2 separate regions of the Homo sapiens genome follow, and region 2 is linked to region 1. The links are contacts of gene promoters, found by promoter capture Hi-C in blood cells and fetal thymus (Javierre and others, 2016). All regions are on one chromosome and are shown on one strand. The core of a region is centred on a gene start or on the middle of the fragment in contact, and the rest is flanking DNA. Distances in the headings are between cores, read along the strand shown.

Evidence for each region. Contacts are between HindIII fragments. The CHiCAGO score rates a contact against its expected background, and 5 or more counts as called.
Region 2: a fragment that was not itself captured here is called in contact with the fragment with the promoter of SYNGR2 in region 1 in 2 of 17 cell types (naive B cells and total B cells); the score reaches 5.5 in naive B cells.

What each region holds. Positions count from the first base shown.
Region 1 is chr17:78,166,019-78,172,631 of GRCh38, forward strand. It overlaps SYNGR2 (synaptogyrin 2), which reads left to right and starts at 2,563. Exons shown (of 4, transcript NM_004710.7): 1 at 2,563-2,697; 2 at 4,799-5,036; 3 at 5,492-5,631; 4 at 5,721-6,613. The coding sequence starts at 2,599. The coding sequence ends at 5,918. C17orf99 (chromosome 17 open reading frame 99) reads left to right here. Exons shown (of 5, transcript NM_001163075.2): 5 at 1-279. The coding sequence ends at 28. RefSeq lists silencers at 2,226-2,835, 2,866-3,025 and an enhancer at 5,855-5,924. The HindIII fragment of the contact is 20,994 bases long and covers 1-6,613 here.
Region 2 is chr17:77,321,808-77,328,420 of GRCh38, forward strand. The region is part of intron 2 of SEPTIN9 (septin 9); the gene reads left to right. Among named protein-coding and RNA genes, the nearest start is that of SEPTIN9-DT, 43 kb to the left of the region's middle. RefSeq lists a silencer at 1,777-1,950 and enhancers at 3,237-3,506, 3,617-3,926, 4,118-5,036. The HindIII fragment of the contact is 681 bases long and covers 3,425-4,105 here.

The DNA.
Region 1 (6,613 bases), core at 1,313-3,812:
CAGAGGACGCAAAGCAGCAGCCATGTAGAATGAACCGTCCAGAGAGCCAAGCACGGCAGAGGACTGCAGGCCATCAGCGTGCACTGTTCGTATTTGGAGTTCATGCAAAATGAGTGTGTTTTAGCTGCTCTTGCCACAAAAAAAAAAAAAAAAAAAAAAGGGTAACTATGAGAGATGGTGGATATGTTAACTTGCTTCGCTATAGGAACCTTTGTGCTATCTATATTATCTATATGAATCCCATCATATCAGGTTGTCTACCTTAAATATACACAAAAACATTTATTTAAAAAAAAGAAAAAAGCCTGCCAGCTGGGATTCTTGGAGTGCTGGTGGCCTTCAGCAAACACAGACACTGTTGGTGTGAGGGCTTCAGGAGGGTCACAGAAATAAGGGGGTCTGTGTGGCCCTGTCCTCGCCTCTCAGGTGCTGTCACATCTCTCTGGGTGTAGGGAGAGGGAGGGGGGCACACTGCGAAAAGGCCCAGCCCCTCCCCCCCACCTGCTCCCCTCTTCCCTGGAGAGGCACCCCACCTCCTGGTGGCCCAGTCCTATGGTTCAACTCTCACGTGGTCCAGCTCACCTGGGTTGACTGTGAGCCCCACCTGGCACACCTGCTGTTGTTAATCTGCACCTGCAACTAGCAAAGGGGGGTCTGGAATTCTTCCGGGTTCAGTCAGCCTGTGATCCCACACCTCTGTCTGTACAACCTCCGCTCCCCACTCCAACACACACAGAGCCTGCCCCAGCCTACCCTGCACCAGACCCTCTGTACCGGTTTTTCTTGGGATGGAGGTAGAGAGGGACGGAGGCGAGAGGGGGCTGAACTGGAACTGGATTAAACTTTGCCATCTGCCTGTCGCCCTGAAAACTTCATTTCTGTTTGCATGCCATATATATATTTTTTTATATGTGGTCTTTTCTTTTTTTTTTTTTTTGAGATGGAGTCTCGCTCTGTCGCAATGGTGCAATCTCGGCTCACTGCAACCTCCGCCTCCCGGGTTCAAGCGATTCTCCTGCCTCAGCCTGCCAAGTAGCTGGGACTACAGGCACGCGCCACCATGCCCAGCTAATTTTTGTATTTTTAGTGGAGACGGGGTTTCACCATGTTGGCCAGGGTGTTCTCGATCTCCTGACCTCGTGATCCGCCTGCTTCAGCCTCCCAAAGTGCTGGAATTACAGGCGTGAGCCACCACGCCCGGCCGATATGTGGTCTTACTCTGTCACCCAGGCTGGGGTGCAAAGGCGTGATCTTGGTTCACTGCAAACTCCGCCTCCTGGGCTCAGACAATTCTCCCACCTCAGCCTCTGGAATAGCTGGGACTGCTAGTAGCTGCCACCACGCCTCGCTAACTTTCGTTTTTGGTTTTGTTTGTTTGTTTGTTTGTTTGTTTGTTTTGTTTGTTTTGAGATGGACTCTTGCTCTGTTGCCCAGGCTGGGGTGTAGTGGCTCGATCTCAGCACACGGCCACCTCTGCCTACCGGTTTCAAGCAATTATCCTGCCTCAGCCTCCCAAGTAGCTGGGATTACAGGCGCTTACCACAACGCCCAGCTAATTTTTTTGTTGTTGTTGTATTTTTAGTAGAGACGGGGTTTCACCATGTTGGCCAGGCTGGTCTCAAACTCCTGACCTCAGGTGATCCAACCGCCTCGGCCTCCCAAAGTGCTGGGATTACAGGTGTGAGCCACTGCGCCCGGCCTTGCACACCATCTTTTTTTTTTTTTTTTTTTTTTTTTTTGACACAGAGTTTTGCTCTTGTTGCCCAGGCTGGAGTGCAATGGCACAATCTCGGCTCACCGCAACCTCCACCTCCCAGGTTCAAGCGATTCTCCTGCCTCAGCCTCCCGAGTAGCTGGGATTACAGGCATGCACCACCACACCAGGCTAATTTTTGTATTTTTAGTAGAGACGGGGTTTCTCCATGTTGGTCAGGCTGGTCTCGAACTCCTGACCTCAGGTGATCCAACCGCCTCGGCCTCCCAAAGTGCTGGGATTACAGGTGTGAGCCACCGCTCCCGGCCTTGCACACCATCTTAAGTGTGACGCCACACTGCCCTTCACAGCCTTGGGGCTCTGCCCAGACCAGGAGGAATGGGGAGGGGGTCTTTGACCCTACCCCAGGCTTAGCCCCAGAGAGGAGGAAAGAGTGGCAGGCCAGGCAGGGAGGGGCTCCAGGGTGTGGCCTGGGTTTTTCAGTGGGATGGGGGAGGGGTTGCTTATGAGCCTGGGTGGGTTCTTGGTAGGTGGTGGGCTTCCTAGAGGAGGCGGTGGGAGGGCAGGGGCAAAGAGGGTGAGCGGTCCTCAGTTCGTCCGTCTTCCCGGGGGACTCTCTGACCCTTTCTGGTCCGTGCTGCGGCCGGCGTGGCCCGGAGACTAGCCCCTCAACCCCGAGGTGGGGTGGACCCGGGTGCTCCGCGGCCACAGCCCCTCCCCGCCTCTAGAAGCGCAGTCCCGCGGCTCGCCCGCCGCTCGCGAGGGCCGCACTTTGCCCTCGGTCCCTAGCGGCGCCTGGCCACGCCCCCGGCGGGTGGAGTCGGGCGGGGCGCCGGGCAGGTTCCTCTGCGTTCCGCGGCGGCGGCAGCGGCGGCGACGGCGACATGGAGAGCGGGGCCTACGGCGCGGCCAAGGCGGGCGGCTCCTTCGACCTGCGGCGCTTCCTGACGCAGCCGCAGGTGGTGGCGCGCGCCGTGTGCTTGGTGAGCCCGGGGAGGGCGGGCCGAGGGCACCCTGGGGACCCCCTCTCCGTCGCCAGGCCCGGCGGGGCCCCTAGCCCACGAGCGCGACAGGTGGCGGCGGCCGCGTCCGGGGCCTGGCGGCGAGCGGGGCCGGCGTCCAGCGTCCCGGGCCCCGCCTTCCCGCCCTCCACAGTCTGTCCCGCTGTCCCCTCCCGGTCCCGGGTCCCGCCACCCACCCCACCCCCAGCCTCGCGCCCCGACGCGGGGTGTCCGGATCTCCGCAGGGAGCGGGCCCCTGCCTCGCTGGCAGTGGGAGGAGTTTGGGGGCGGCTCCCGGACAGGTGGCCCGCACGCCGCGACTCCCAGATTGGGGAGTTCACCGGGACGGGGTTTTCCGAAGCCACGTGGGGTAAGGGAGGGGGCGGGGGGCGACCCAACGCCCGGAAACAGGGTGTCCTTCCCACTCGGGGCAGGCCACGGGTCCGCCTTCCCACCCGAAGTTGAGGGACCCCAAGATGTACCCCCTCCCTGTAAGGTGGGCAATACCTCCAAAACCAGGTTTTGTGTGTGTGTGTGTGTGGCGGGGAGGGGGCCTGTTCTTGGACAGCCAGCCCTGAAAGCTGGAGGGGGTGGCATGAGGGGGCAGGCAGAGGTGGGCCTGCTGTGCCCAGACCATGCCTGGGCCTGGAGCTTCTGAGGTCCTCCAGGGCGCCCACACCAGCTCCCAGCCAGGCTGTGGGATCTGATCGCCTCTGTCCTGGGCTGTGTCCAAGAATCAGGTGCCCAGTGGGTCGGGATGGCAGTGCCAGGAGTCCTGGATGGGCACCCTGCTCCCATCATCCCGGAGATCCGGCTTCATCTCCATCTGGGGGCGGGGCCTGTGACTGCCAGCTCCAGAGCCCTATGGAGAGCTCCCTGGGACAACAGGGCAGGACTGGCAGGGGAGAGTCCTGGGGCCATCCCAGAGGGATCCTGATGCTCACAGACCTGTCCCACACCTGCTGAGGTGGAGCAGGCGTGGGTGGTGGCCTTCAAGTTTAGGGAGGTGGTATGGGGCTCTTCCCAAGGGGCTGGAGCTCCCCTACATCCACCCTGGGTCCTCCAGGTGTCTGAGTTCAGAGCTGTATCCACAGGCCTGAGTTAGTCCCCTTGTAGTGCCCTGTGCATGCAGGGCCCTCTGTGGGGTGGGAGACAGACTGGGAGGGACCAGGATGCCACAGAGGCTGCAAGTCCTTGTGTGGAGACAGCTGGCCAGGCTGAACCAGGGAGGGTTCCAGGGGTTCCAGGAGGTGAAGACACAGGGGCGCCAGCATGGCCTTCCCAAGAGGGCCTGTCCACCTTCACCAAGGTGTTCAGGCAGAGGCTGGGTGCTGTAGAAGTGACTTGGGCTGAAGGTGACGGGGGATGGGTAGTCTTTGTGACTTGGCCTGTCTTGGTTAAACCTCTTTCAAGGTGAGGTTGGGCTGGGGATGGAAGGACTGCCCTTCATCCATCAGGTACCTAAGCAGAATGATTCCTGCAGCAGGCCGATGGGGCAGGAGCAGCCCCTGCCTAGGAGGTCCCTGCCCATTCCCCACCCCTCCCCGGTCCAGGATTCCCAGGGGCAGGCCCCCTGGTGCCTGCAGATTCTCATCCTGGGGTGCATCAGGAAGCACTTTGCTCATCAGCTCACCTCCACAAGTTTGGAGGGGCTAAGATGTCAGCCTCCAAAAGGGGACAGCAGGCTGGGCGAGGTGGCTCATGCCTGTAATCCCAGCACTTTGGGAGGCCGAGGAGGGTGGATCACCTGAGGTCAGGAGTTCCAGACCAGCCTGGCCAACATGGTGAAACCCTATCTCTACTAAAAATACGGGTGTGGTGGAGGGCACCTGTAATCCCAGCTACTAGGGAGGCTGAGGCAGAATTGCTTGAACCCAGGAGGCAGAGGATGCAGTGAGCCGAGATCGCACTATTGCACTCCAGCCTGGGCAACAAGAGCAAGACTCCATCTCAAACAACAACAAAAACCCAAAAGGGGACAGCAGTAGTGGGAGAGGCCAGCATCTGTACACCCCATCAGGGTCCCCGCTGTGTGTGCCCCTCAGGCGGCCACCAGCCCTACCAGGTCCTCCCCTCCCGGCAGGTCTTCGCCTTGATCGTGTTCTCCTGCATCTATGGTGAGGGCTACAGCAATGCCCACGAGTCTAAGCAGATGTACTGCGTGTTCAACCGCAACGAGGATGCCTGCCGCTATGGCAGTGCCATCGGGGTGCTGGCCTTCCTGGCCTCGGCCTTCTTCTTGGTGGTCGACGCGTATTTCCCCCAGATCAGCAACGCCACTGACCGCAAGTACCTGGTCATTGGTGACCTGCTCTTCTCAGGTATCTGCCTGTGGCACCTCCATTTGATCTTGGGGGAGGCATTAACTCTAGGGTTCCGCAGCTGGGAGGGTCTCGGCCTCTCTGGGAGGGGCAGGGAGCAGCTCACTCCTCCAGGGCATTTTTAGGAAAGGGTTTTCAGCTAGTGTTTTTCCGTGCTTGAATGGCACCAGCCCTGCCTGGGGTAGCTAGAAGCTGAGTGGACCTGCAGCACACCCGAGCAGATGGGCTTTGCCTCTGCCCCTTTTGTCCCCTAGGCTGTCTGCTGTGGCCCACCCTGCCAAGGCCCGAGTGTGGGGGACTTTGGAGGTGGCTCCCGGCCCGGCTTCCAAGTCCTCCCCTCCATAGTGTGGAGGCTCCCCCGGGAGGTCCCTGCCCTACCTGCCCGCGTCCCCTCCCAGAGTCCTGGAAAGCCCCTCCCTTTCCATGGAACTGACGCTTCACCCGTCCTCCCCCAGCTCTCTGGACCTTCCTGTGGTTTGTTGGTTTCTGCTTCCTCACCAACCAGTGGGCAGTCACCAACCCGAAGGACGTGCTGGTGGGGGCCGACTCTGTGAGGGCAGCCATCACCTTCAGCTTCTTTTCCATCTTCTCCTGGGTAGGATGGCCAGGGGCCGGTTCTTGGGTCAAGGGTGGTGGAGGGTGGGGTCCCCCACCCACCTGTACCCTGCTGTGCTCCCCCTGCAGGGTGTGCTGGCCTCCCTGGCCTACCAGCGCTACAAGGCTGGCGTGGACGACTTCATCCAGAATTACGTTGACCCCACTCCGGACCCCAACACTGCCTACGCCTCCTACCCAGGTGCATCTGTGGACAACTACCAACAGCCACCCTTCACCCAGAACGCGGAGACCACCGAGGGCTACCAGCCGCCCCCTGTGTACTGAGCGGCGGTTAGCGTGGGAAGGGGGACAGAGAGGGCCCTCCCCTCTGCCCTGGACTTTCCCATGAGCCTCCTGGAACTGCCAGCCCCTCTCTTTCACCTGTTCCATCCTGTGCAGCTGACACACAGCTAAGGAGCCTCATAGCCTGGCGGGGGCTGGCAGAGCCACACCCCAAGTGCCTGTGCCCAGAGGGCTTCAGTCAGCCGCTCACTCCTCCAGGGCACTTTTAGGAAAGGGTTTTTAGCTAGTGTTTTTCCTCGCTTTTAATGACCTCAGCCCCGCCTGCAGTGGCTAGAAGCCAGCAGGTGCCCATGTGCTACTGACAAGTGCCTCAGCTTCCCCCCGGCCCGGGTCAGGCCGTGGGAGCCGCTATTATCTGCGTTCTCTGCCAAAGACTCGTGGGGGCCATCACACCTGCCCTGTGCAGCGGAGCCGGACCAGGCTCTTGTGTCCTCACTCAGGTTTGCTTCCCCTGTGCCCACTGCTGTATGATCTGGGGGCCACCACCCTGTGCCGGTGGCCTCTGGGCTGCCTCCCGTGGTGTGAGGGCGGGGCTGGTGCTCATGGCACTTCCTCCTTGCTCCCACCCCTGGCAGCAGGGAAGGGCTTTGCCTGACAACACCCAGCTTTATGTAAATATTCTGCAGTTGTTACTTAGGAAGCCTGGGGAGGGCAGGGGTGCCCCATGGCTCCCAGAC
Region 2 (6,613 bases), core at 2,515-5,014, 840 kb before region 1:
AGGCTTGGGTGGCAGTGAAACTGCATCTTATCTGTTTGAGCTCGGGGGCTCAGGCCCGCTGGGACGGGTGGGTGTGGAGCCCAGCGTCCTGCTCTCCGCCCAGCAGGAGCCGCAGGGCAGGGAGCGCTGAGAGGGACCTTCGTCAGGCTTGCACAGTGGAGCCGTCCTCGGAGTGACCACCCCACCAGGCAGCCTGGGCAGACCACAGTGGGTCCCCTGCCTCCTGGGCCACCAGCCCCAGGAGGACGTCACTCCACCCGCCTGGCTGGCAGGGGCCTCGGGGAGCCTCGGGTTCGGCCTTCACTTTATAGATGATCTAGCCGAGGCCCAGATGGGTGACCAGCAGGGGATCTGAGAGCTGAGCAGAGAGGCGTGGGTTTGGGGGTGGTGCTCCCTGGGGAGCTGGAAGTGATGGCACCCTCCCAGGCTCACAAAACACGGGCTTTTCATGAACTGAACAAAACACTCTTTGAAAGCAGCCAGTGCTGTGCCCCAGAGACCACTCTGATCCCTGCTGCCCTTGGCTGAGGACAGCACAGCCAGGGATGAAGCGGGGACCTCCCCTCGGGCTGTGCCTTGATGAAAGATGCTTTCTACAAAATCCCATTCGGATGTGTTTTCATGTAAGAAAACGTACATTTTTAGAAACTCAGTTGTAAACTGGCTGCCTTCCGAATGAACACGACAGTCCCGGAGCTGTTTCCCTTAATGAGGTTCTCGTCCTGGGCAAACTTTAGCGCTGGTCTTTAATTGTCACTGAACTCCCGCACAGTCCCTGGGGAAGTGACTTCCTTCCTGTCCCTGCTGGGTGGCCTTGAGCAAGCCACTTGGCAGCTCTGGGCCGCAGTTCCGTCATCTGCAAGGTGAGGGGTGGGAGCGGCACGGCCCCTAGGCAGCGCCCCCACCTCCTGCGGGTTTCTGCGCGTGTCCTGAGTTTTGTGGGCGCCTCTTCCCTCACTGAGGGGCTCTTCTTCTCTGCAGGGCATGGCTCACGCCGCGTTGTCAGGCTGCAAGCCACTGCGAGAGCTGCTCTGATCCCCAAGCATGCTCTGGCCTGAGGAGGAGCCATGGGGAGGACGCTGTGCCTGTGTGACAGAGGCCTGCCCGGCAGATGCCGGCCCGCTGACTTCCAGACGTGGCTGTGGGTGCCTCATGCCCCACTGGGCTGGCGTGTGAGGCGTGTCCAGCTCAGGCTGCCCTACAGCTGCCCAGGAAGGGTTTGTGGGAGGGGGTGGTCCTACCCTGGTGAGTCCACGGTGGTCTGCCAGCCCCAGGGAAGGCTTAGGAGCCCCAAGACCTGCCCTCTTGTCCCTCCCTCGGCAGTGTCTGGCTCCGGTCTGGTTTGTGAACGGGGGCCTGGGTACTCTCCCGCCCTCCCTGGGGGCTGTGGCCTTCCCCTGGGAAGGTGCTGGAGGGTTTGTCAGCAGGGCCGGCATGAGTCATGGAGTGGTGACTGGCCGCTGAGGCATGGAAGGCCACTCCTTCCAGCCAAGGGTCGGAGCTTTTTTTTTGTTCTGGAACGGCTTTGTGGCTTTTACAAATTAAGCAGTTTTATCTTGTTCCAAGAGCTTGTATTTCAGCAGGGAGAGAGTCTCCAAGAAGGGAACTTTCCACTGGGGAGCTCTGTTGGGCTGGGAGGCTAGGAACAGGCCACGAGGGAGGGCTGCAGGCAGGGGAAGTGGCCGTCTGTGCATGGTCATGAATGCAGGCCCGGGGTCCTGGAGGGGGCTTGGCCACGCTGTCGCTGGACGTCTGTCCCCACCAGGGTCCATCTGATGCAGTACGGCACAGGGTAAAGCCCAGCTCCTCTTACGGGGTTCCTGGGTCATCAGTGGGCGGGGAACCGAGGCCTCCTGGAGGGCGGTGCCTCAGCCCTCACCCCTCCCTCCTGTCCCTCGCTGTGCTGTCCCCGATGGCCTCTGCCATCCCCTGGGAGTTCTTACCCCTGGACGCTCGGTGCCTGTCCGGTCTCAACCTCTCCAGCTCTGCTTTTCCATCTCCGAGGTGAGAGGCCTGGCCTGACGCGCTCTGCACCCGCTTCCTGCCCAGCCCCGTGGGAACTCTGGTCCCTGTAGTGGTTTCCTGGGGCTGCCATCACCAAGTGCCACAAACTGGGTGGCTCAAAACACCAGACATTTCTTCTCTCGCCGTTCTGGAGGCCAGAAGTCCGAAATCACGGCATCAGCAGGCCTGGTTCTTTCCGGAGGCTCCGAGGGGGAGCCTGCTTCTCGCCTCTGGCAGCTTCTGGCGGCTCCCGAAACCCTTGGCGTTCCTTGGCTCGTGGCCACACCACTCGACCTCTGCCTCCGTTGTCACGGGGCCTCCTTCTGTGCCCTAAATCTCCCCCTGTCTGTCTCTCATACGGACAGTCTTTCTCGGATTTAGGGCCCACTGGGTAACCCAAAATGGTCCCATCTCAAGATCCTTAACTTCATAACGTCTGCAAAGACCCTTTTTCCAAATAGGCCATGTTCATAGGCTCTGGGGTGGATGTAAATTTTAGGGGCCACCTTTCATCCCCCTGTTGTCCCCGTGTGTCTGGATGCACAGCATGGTTCCATGTCCCAGACTCCTTGCTGGACCCCTCTGGCCCTTTGGGGTGGCCTTTGGCCTTTTCCACTCGTTTCTGTGCTCCTGGTGAGGTGTCGGGGTCGGGCTTAGCCCCTGCAGGAATTCTGGGGACAGCATGGAGCCGGCAACTCCCCACCAGGCGTCTTCCTACCTGCCCAGAGCTCATGGTTGTGAGGGGTCTCTCCTTGTGGTTTTGATTTGCAATTCCCCAGTGGTTAGTGATGTTGAGCATCTTTTCGTGTTTATTGCTCATTTGCACATATTCTTGCAGAAATGTCTGTCCAAGTCCTTTACCTGTGTTTGATTTGGATGATTGTTGTTGCTGAGTGTTAGGAGATCTGTAGATTAATATCCAGATACTAATCCCATATCTGACCTATGATTTGCTGCCATTCCATGGATTGCCTTCTCCCCACGTTGTTAGTGCCCTTTGATATGCAATTTTTTTTTTTTTTTTTGAGATGGAGTCTGACTCTGTTGCCCAGGCTGGAGTGCAGTGGCATGATCTTGGCTCACTGCAACCTCCGCCTCCCTGGTTCCAGCGATTTTCCTGCCTCAGCCTCCTGAGTAGTTGGGATTACAGGCACCCGCCACCACACCCAGCTAATTTTTGTATTTTTAGTAGAGACGGGGTTTCACTGTGTTGACTAAGTTGGTCTCGAACTCCTGACCTCAAGTAATCCACCCGTCTCGGCCTCCCAAAGTGCCGGAGTTACAGGCGTGAGTCACCGCACCCAGGCTGATATGCAAATATTTTAAACTTCTATGACGTTCCACTTTATCTATTTGTTCTTCTGTTGCCTGTGCTTTTGGCGCCATATCCAAGAAATCATTGCCAAATGCAACGTCAGGAAGCTTTTCCCCTGTGTTTTCTTCTAAGAGTTTTGTGGTTTTAGCTCTTGAGTTTAGGTCTTTGATGCAAGTTGAGTTGATTTTTGCATGTGGTGTAAGGGCTGGTCCAGCCTCATGCTCTGGGCTCTTGATTCACTTCTCTTCTTTTCTCACGCCCAGCTGGTTCCGCTGGGTGGCGGGGAGGAGTGGGGAAGTCCCGGGCTGGGCCTGCACTCGATCATCCCCTCTCAGGCCAGCCAGGGAGTCTCAGCTCCTGCCCAGGACCTGGCTGGACGTGCTCCCTACCGGGAAAGCCTGGGCCGTCTTTCTAGGCTGATGGCAGGGCCAGCCCGGGGCGTCCTGAGGCCTGCCCTGCGGACATGCCCCTTGTTCTAGGTGGTGTGGCTGCCCGGCCTGCGTGTGAGACCAGCTGTCTGTGCTTCAGGCCATGGAGGCTGAGTGTTTCCAGCCTGTCCCCTTGCTCGGCTCTCCCTCTGGGGAAGCCCCTGCAGCCCATTCTCTGCCTCCGCTTCTGCCATCTGTGCCTTTGTCTGCTTCCTGTTTGGAGGTGGTCATCCCTGGGGCCACCCCTCATGATCTGGACACAAGTCTCCATCCTGAAGCCACCACCCAAACCCCTGTGCCTCAAACCCCTCCCACCCACCACATGGGTTTCCACTGTGACCAACTCAGCAGCTGATGAAGCTTCCCTTGGGGCTCTCCTAGCAACGGGGAGCTGGCTTTCCCGGAGGCCTGGCCTCTCCCTAAGTGGAAGTGGGGCGTGAGGGTGTCAGCCTTTTTCTGCTGCCTGGTGCTCTAGGTTGGCTTGTCACCCCTGGAAGCACTTGCCATCCTTATACAGCACCCCACACCCACCTCCCCGCCTCCTACCCCTTCTTCCAAGGGGTCATCTCTGCTTCCCTCCCCACCCAACCTCACCCATGTGGTCCGCCCAGCAACCTTTGACCCCCAACATGACAAAATAAACCTCCCTTGCCGGTCACTCATTCATTCATTCAGCATTGGGTGCTCCCTGTGGACTTGGCGCTGGGGTCCCGTGGAGGACAAAGCCAGACACAGTCCTTGCCCTCATGGGACTGCACAAGTGCAAGACCACATCAGTAAACGTGAAACACAGGAAGTGACAGGTGTGACAAAGGGGACCAGTGGCAGGACAGAACCTGCGGTTCGTAGGACCAGGTCAGGAGGGCTGCCTCGGGGGGACACCTTCGGGCTGAGCGCAGAAGGATGAGGGGAGTAAACCAGGCTCAAACCCAGCAGGCAGAGGCGATCGCTGCAGGCAACCGGCAATGTGTTCAAAGGCCCTGGGGCGCGGGGGGCTGAGGCCGGCAGCACGGCAGGAAGTAAGACTGGGGTTGAAAGAGACTGACTGTCATGTTGTGAAATATACACTTGGTTTTCATCTCCATTTCCTGGCACACAACTCCTAAAATCCTTGGAATCTCCAAAGTGATGTCTTTTTGGATGCTCATGATTGACAGACCAGCTGGCAGCTTCAGGATGGTTCCCAGGGAAGACCAGGTAGAATCACAAGGTTCAGCACCACCCCGCAACCTCCAGGTAGGGGAGAGGGGCTGAAGGTTAAGCAGATCATCAGCGGCCAATGATTGAATCAATCATGCCTTCGTAATGAGGCCTCCGTGAACACTCAGAAGGATGGGGTTCCGGGAGCTTCTGGATGGATGAGCATGTGGAGGCTCCTGGAGGGTGGAGCGCCTGGGGAGCACATGGAAGCTCTGCGTCCCTCCCCCATACCTTGCCCTACACATCTCTTCCCCTGTATCCTTTGTAATATCCTTTATAATAAACTAGTAAATTCCATGAGCCCCAGGAACATGTGTAAAAGAAAAAAAAAAGAATAAACCATAGCTGCTGTAGCAAGTTAATCCTACCAGCACTGGCTCTCATCTGCCGACCTTACCTCTGGCAATGCCTCCCTCTCCTGGGCTCCTGGGACCCCTCCGGCCCCACCACCCCTCCTGTAGTGGTCTCGCTGGCTGCTGCCCTCAGGTTAGTTTATTTTTACCCGGCCTGCTCCCACCAGGGGCTGAGGCCTCCTTGCTCACTCCAGCTTCCTGGCCCGTCTCTTGCTCTGGGCACCCCCCCACTCCGAACGGCCAGAGCTTCTGAAGCCGCTCGCTGTGTGCCCCCGCCTGGCCCCATGCATCCCGCACGGTGCTCCCCAGGGTCTCCCACTGGCAAGGGCATTGGCATAGATTCTGGGGCTGCCTTGGTTCAAGCCCACCCTGACTTGGAGCCTGAGGGTCCCTGAGGGGGTCCTGAAGGCCAGGGCAGGCAAGGCTGGCATGCTCTGGGCAGTGGGGGCTGGGTATGGGAGGGGATCGTGGGTGGGGAGATTCCTCTTAACCAGCGGCCCACGTTTGGAGACTGATTTGGGCTCCAGGCTACGCCTTGAAATTGGGACAGAGAGTGGCGCAGATCTCAGCCCGGAGACTCCCTCTGCCTGTGGACGCCCTCATACCTCCATCCGTGGAGCCACCCTCCTCTTTTTTTTTCTAAATGGGGAAACTCTGACTTGAACACTGAATAAACAACACACCCTCGAAATCAGCGAAGAGGCACTGGCTCTGAAACTTTGCCATGAAAGCTTGAAAATGCTCTTTGGACCGATTTGCTGGAACAGACGGGTGTGATGGGGCTGCGGGGTTTCAGGTGGCAGGAGGCGTCCCCGTGCCTAGGGCATCCCGATGCTCAGAGTTTCCCCGTGCCCAGTGTGTCCCTGTATCCAGGGCATCCCCATGCCCAGGGTGTCCCCGTGCCTAGTGTGTCCCTGTATCCAGGGCATCCCCATGCCCAGGGTTTCCCCGTGCCCAGGGTGTCCCTGTATCCAGAGCATCCCCATGCCCAGGGTGTCCCCGTACCCAGGGTGTCCCCGTTCCCAGGGCGTCCTGTGCCCAGGGTGTCCCCGTGCCCAGTGTGTCCCTGTATCCAGGGCGTCCCCATGCCCAGGGTGTCCCCATGCCCAGGCACTGCCTCTCCCCACTTTCCTAATCTCCCTCCACCAACAGGTGTCAGCTGTGAAATGCCTGCTGTGTGTGTCCTTTGGTTGAGTTCATCTTGTGCTCTTAAGTTCCTGTTAGACACAGGCAGGCTGCTTTAGTTCTTCTGGCAAATGTTTTGTTGTTGTTGTTTGATACGGGGTCTCACTCCGTCACCCAGGCTGGAGTGC